2 separate regions of the Homo sapiens genome follow, and region 1 is linked to region 2. Evidence: promoter capture Hi-C in 16 types of primary human blood cells and fetal thymus (Javierre and others, 2016). All regions are on one chromosome and are shown on one strand. Each heading gives the region's core, a stretch centred on a gene start or on the middle of the fragment in contact. The rest is flanking DNA. Distances are from core to core; before and after follow the strand shown.

What was found. Contacts are between HindIII fragments. The CHiCAGO score rates a contact against its expected background, and 5 or more counts as called.
Region 1: a contact is called between the fragment with the promoter of CDKL2 here and the fragment with the promoter of UBA6 in region 2, in 1 of 17 cell types (fetal thymus). The highest score is 6.7, in fetal thymus.

The regions. Positions count from the first base shown.
Region 1 is chr4:75,629,130-75,631,829 of GRCh38, forward strand. CDKL2 (cyclin dependent kinase like 2) reads right to left here and starts at 1,399. Exons shown (of 14, transcript NM_001330724.2): 1 at 913-1,399. The HindIII fragment of the contact is 1,829 bases long and covers 889-2,700 here.
Region 2 is chr4:67,699,815-67,702,514 of GRCh38, forward strand. UBA6 (ubiquitin like modifier activating enzyme 6) reads right to left here and starts at 1,341. Exons shown (of 33, transcript NM_018227.6): 1 at 1,235-1,341. The coding sequence starts at 1,305. UBA6-DT (UBA6 divergent transcript) reads left to right here and starts at 1,464. Exons shown (of 2, transcript NR_015439.1): 1 at 1,464-1,670. RefSeq lists silencers at 1,065-1,234, 1,365-1,434. The HindIII fragment of the contact is 4,018 bases long and covers 1-2,275 here.

The sequences.
Region 1 (2,700 bases), core at 149-2,648, 7.9 Mb after region 2:
CTCTTCCATTAAGAGAGTATGTTTTATTAAGCACTAGGCTTTAGGTTTATCATACCAATGACAAAAATAGCTTGAATCTATAACCTGGATTATTTTAAAACATTTTGTAATTGATGTCCTCAATATTTGAAAGCACAAAGTGAACCAAAAAAAATGACTTTAAGCATGTCTGAGGTGTTCTGAAGCATATCCCAAGCTAACATTAATGCAAGTTGACTGCTTCAAGTTTATTCTCCCAACCAATTGCATATCTGGACACACCACATTGAACACACCTGCTTTTTCAAGTGACACTGTCCACAAATACTTTAAAAGTATCACAGCCTACAAAGCCTCCTGTTTCCTGAAACAGTTACTCATAAACTATAACTTCTCATGCCTTCTACTCTTGAACGGAAAGGTAATACAAACGAAAAAGAAACCTGGCCAATGGGCAAGGTGTTATTTCTGGATGGTTCTAAAAGCAACAATTTTGATAAAAATATTTGGAGAATGCTAATTTTTTATTTTGTTTAAGACAGATTAAAGGGCCGGGAGCGGTGGCTCACGCCTGTAATCCCAACACTTTGGGAGGCCGAGGCGGGCGGATCACCTGAGGTTGCGAGTTCGAGACCAGCCTAACCAACATGGAGAAACCCTGTCTCTACTAAAAATACAAACTTAGCCGGGCGTGGTGGTGATGCCTGTAATCCCAGCTACTTGGGAGGCTGAGGCAGGATAATCGCTTGAACCCAGGAGGCAGAGGTTGCGGTGAGCCGAGACCATGCCATTGCACTCCAGCCTGGGCAACAAGAGTGAAACTCCGTCTCAAAAAAAAAAAAAAAAAAAAAAAAAAAAAAAAAAAAAAAAGATTGAAATCTTTTATAGATCAAAGAACGAGATAATAGAAGCTTTAAAACGTACTATACTTACCGTTTCTTCAATCCGTTCGCATAGAAAGACCCAAAGGTTTTCAACTTGGAAACAAATTTGAGGTGAAATGCATATGGTTCGCAGGTCCAAAAGATGCTGCCTAGCAAACTAGCAATTCCAGCGCTGTTGTGATTTCTTCTGCGGACGCAGTCACGAGTCCAGGGCGAAGCAGGCAGGGAGGCAGGTGGGCCTCGGTCCGCCGCAAGCTCACACTTAGGAGGACCACGGGCCGCATGCTGTCGTCGTCAAGGCAACGACCTCACTCTGTCCCCAACCATAGGCACAAAGTCTTGGGAGACAGATACGGCCCAGGTCAGAATGCGTTCACGGCAGGCACCAACACCTGTGAAGGCCAAGGGCTAGAGAGCAATTAGCTGGGTGAGAGGCACCACCTCCCAGCTCGTAAGGCGCCCAGTACCTGGAGCCTGGGAACCTGCACCGCTCCAACTACCCCTGGGCGAAGGCGTTGGCCGCGGAGCTGCAAGGGGGGGCGGTTTCTCACCCGCCCCGAGAGCGCCAGGCCTCCCTTCTTCTGATTGGCCGAGCCGAGTCGTCACGAGCCATGATTGGCTCAGGGCCAACCACCCCGCCCCTTCACCTAGGGCTCGGCCCAGGTTCTGCTCCCTGACACGCAGAGGCCCTGCGTCCCCACACGCCTTGGTTCTCGTCAGGAGGCGCCTTTCTGCCTTCCCCAGCGGGAGGAGGCGATTGTGATGCCCACGCGAAGGGTAAAGGTGGCGGTTATGTAGGACTGCGAAGACTATGCAAAATGCGATACGGTTTCCCTCATAGCATCGCCGCTGGGGCAGGGGCGGGCGCCGGGCGCCCTGAGTCGCGTAGGCGCGGCCTGACCGGGATTCCATGCTTCCTTTCTGTTCTGGGCGGTGGGGCCAGTGTGAGCCAGGTAGGAGATAACGGTGACAGTTTAGGAGGTGATGATTAGTAGGCGAGGCAAGGTGGAAGAAGGTAGGTGATGACAGACCTGACGTTAGGAGGGACCTTGGGAAGGCCAGTCTGGCCATTGAAAGTGAGGGAAAACACTGAGATGGAGGAAGGGGAAGAGAGGGCATGAGTGGAATGGGAAAGCGCTGGGATGGCTGGGGATCTGGAGGACACGCACAACACCCGCGTATGGCAGCCAAATGGGGTGGAGTTAGGGCTTGCGATAAAACTTGCCTTAAATGCAAAAATGCAGCTCAATCCACGACTGAGCAAGACTGGTAGGTCAGAATCATGCACAGGCTTAAATCACACAGGAACAGAGCTTACCCCATTTTCAAAGAATCTGAGGCAGCGAGGAGGCCATAAGGCCAGTAAAATAACACTTTCAATCATGATAACTAAATGTTCATGATCATTTTGGTCTCGAAACTACTTTGATTTAGGGAATAGAGTGTCCTGGATAGACAAATGTCTACCATATACCCTAGTCAATATTAAGGTATTAATCATTAATGTTAAGGTATTGATTCCTTCTTGTACATTAAGAAATAGACATTCTTTTTATAGTCTTTTGTGAGTTTGGTTAGTTTGCATTAATCTCCCAGTGGTTAATTACCTTGGTCAGACTGCTTAAAATCTAGTTCCTGAACCTGTAATATTGAGAACCAGACCTGAGGCCTAGTTATGGAAAGAATAGAATTATTTGGTCAATTCAAGATGTGACTCTTAGTGTAGCAATTAGCTCTGTCCTTAGCTGTGTCCAAGTTGCGAGAAGCCCTGTCCCATTTGGTACCTCTATAGGCTATAAGAGAATCTGATGAACTTCTTTTATATGGGGGTAGATTC
Region 2 (2,700 bases), core at 91-2,590:
CTAGTCTAAGAACTCCTGAGCTCAAGCGACCCGCCTGCTTCGACCTCCCAAAGCGCTGGGATTGCAAGCGTTTGAGCCACTGCGCCCGGCCAAAGTTTTTTATTATCTACTTTCCTATCATTTTATCCCTAGTACACTTTCACTTGCTGTTTTCCTTGCATGGCGGGGGCAATAGGCCTGGTGGGTAAATCTGAATAAAAACGAGAACAGCTGCAGTCTAACTAGCTCTGCCACTTAATGGCGTGACTGGCCCTTTTCAGAAAGTTGTGCCTCACTGGAATGTTTCAAAAATATGTAAAAATAATATGATCTATAAGACAATCAAAAACGCTTCAAATAAGGCGCGGGTTATATTACATAATATCCCTCCACTCTGGCAGTGTTGGCAATGGCAGACAACACCATGAAACTGAAAGCATCCCTTCAGTCTGAAACTGGCGAAAAGGCTACAGGTTTACAAAGTCTCACATCAGCTGAAAATAATACATCCATCAATTCTATCTTTGGCATGGTGTATTCTGACAGTGGTGGATAGAATGTAACCACTTGCTTTATTAATTATGAGATGATTGAAAGAGGAACTACTAACCAAGAAATTGGTAAAGGCCTAGCACAAATATTTTCCCCCTAATTTTACAGGGGCGGGAAAGACCTGAAGAACTTCAAAACCAAGTGGGAAATAAGAATGGGTAACTTGTGTATTTTTTTTTCCTGGCTTTTTTTTTTTCCTTCTTCCGAAGTCAACAAAGGCCTCAGGGTGTCCAGATTGCTACTGATTCATTCTTACCAAGTTCCTTCTGGTAATAGTTTTCAAAAGAGGATCTCAGTGGAGGTGCACAGTGGCGCTCCTAGCTTTCTTTTTACGGAAAGGAGGAAAGGTGCTTGGCACCAGTCGGGGAAGCTCACGCCAAGTGACCGAGACCAGAACTCGCTCTCGACCGGAGCCCCCCAAGTCTGGTGACTTGGAGGAAGGAGGATCCCGAATCCCAGCCAGAACTGAGAAAGCCCTCAAAGGTGCGGAAAGGGGACTTTTCCCTCAGGAAAGCCGGCAACAGCAGAGGCCCTAGCCCACGTCGCCACACCCACTCCGCGCGCGCCCCTCGCCTCCCAGGGCCGGCTCTGCTCGGCCCCGCGGCCTCTCGGGCGCCCCCAGCCCGCCGGAAAGAAAGAAGCAGAAACCCGGAGCCTGGGTCCCACCCGCGACCCCTCACCTTCGCCCTTCTCGTCCTCTCACCTGCCAGTCCCCCAGGAAGAACAGGACGCCTCTTCCCCCTGATGGGCGGCCACAGGCTCGGATCCTTCCATTGCCGCCTGAGACACCGCCGCCGGCTACTGGAAGGTAGGAAGGGGCGGGACCGTGGGGGGGTCAAGGGGCGGGCGGAGACGTCATCAGAGGGGGCGGGCCTGGGGAAGCTAGGAGCCCGGCAGCGCCTTCCCGTCAACCCTAGGGGCGTCCTGGTTTCCGGTTTGGGTGTGGCCGCATGGCGTGCTGTGGTGCAGGTGGCCGAAGGGGGCGTTACTGTTGCGACTGGCATCCGCATCCGGCAGATGTAGATGGAACCAAAGTCCAGAAGTTACGCGTCACCCTTGCTCTACAGCCAAACATGCAGGACTCTAGTAACCCGCGAAATGATGGGATAGCGTTGCAAATCCTTAAAAGAGTCTTAACGGTAAGAAGAGGAAACAGCTTTATTTTATAAATAAACTGAAGGCTGCTAATAGCTCCAGATTGTCAGTGAGGGGATACCACTTAAAGATGTTATACATTTAATAAATAATTTTGGGAGTCCACTACATGTGAGGCGCTGCCTCAGATTTAATAGAATCATGTGACTTTTAGTGCCATAGATGTCGTTAGATCATCCAGTTTGGTCCCTTAAATTTGTGGGTAAGGGAAAGGAACTTCCGGTCAGTGCAAGTGACTTGGTCAAGGTTATAGAGCTAGTCACTGTTAGATTACCAGAACACATATCTAAAAAGTTCTCATATAATTCTTTTTCATTTACTTCCGTGTCACCTTTCTTAGAAAGCAAAAATGAGTTGGACACAATAACATTAGGATTTGTCTTTCACTAAATAACACTGTATATTTGAATAAACATCTGCAGGATTTTTAAAATTAGCATATACTTTGGGTATTATGTAATTTTCTGTGATGTATCATATTTTTAATTAGAAATTTTTCCTCTCATATGGAGATGAGGGTCCAGGCAAAACTGTATTATCCTTCGTGCCCTCTATTCTCTTCAAAATTGCACATCTTAAAATACCTGGAAGCTTTATGTTGCTCACCTATAGCATTATCCGTGTTCCTCAATCCAGTTGTGAACCTTTTCCACATTAAAATGTTCTTGATCTGTGTTCTATTCTTTCAAGGCTCTGCTCTAGCACTAAGATAATGCTACAGGACTGAAGATAATGAAAAAGATTGAAGAAAGCAGAAACAGAACAAAAATCAGATTATTTCAAAGTTTCTTTCCTTGTAAAGGTTAAAACAGAGCATACTTCCTTATTATGCCCACTAGGTTAACTAGAATCTCCTGTTTTTTTAAAAAAAACTGGCTCATTTTTTCAAAATCCACTTTAATTACATGGTGCTTAGCACAAGCAACTCCATTCTGGTTTGATCTGATGGGGCCTAGTGTAGAAGGCTAGGCCAAAACAATGGCCTGCCATTACCCACGCTTCTTCATATTTTAA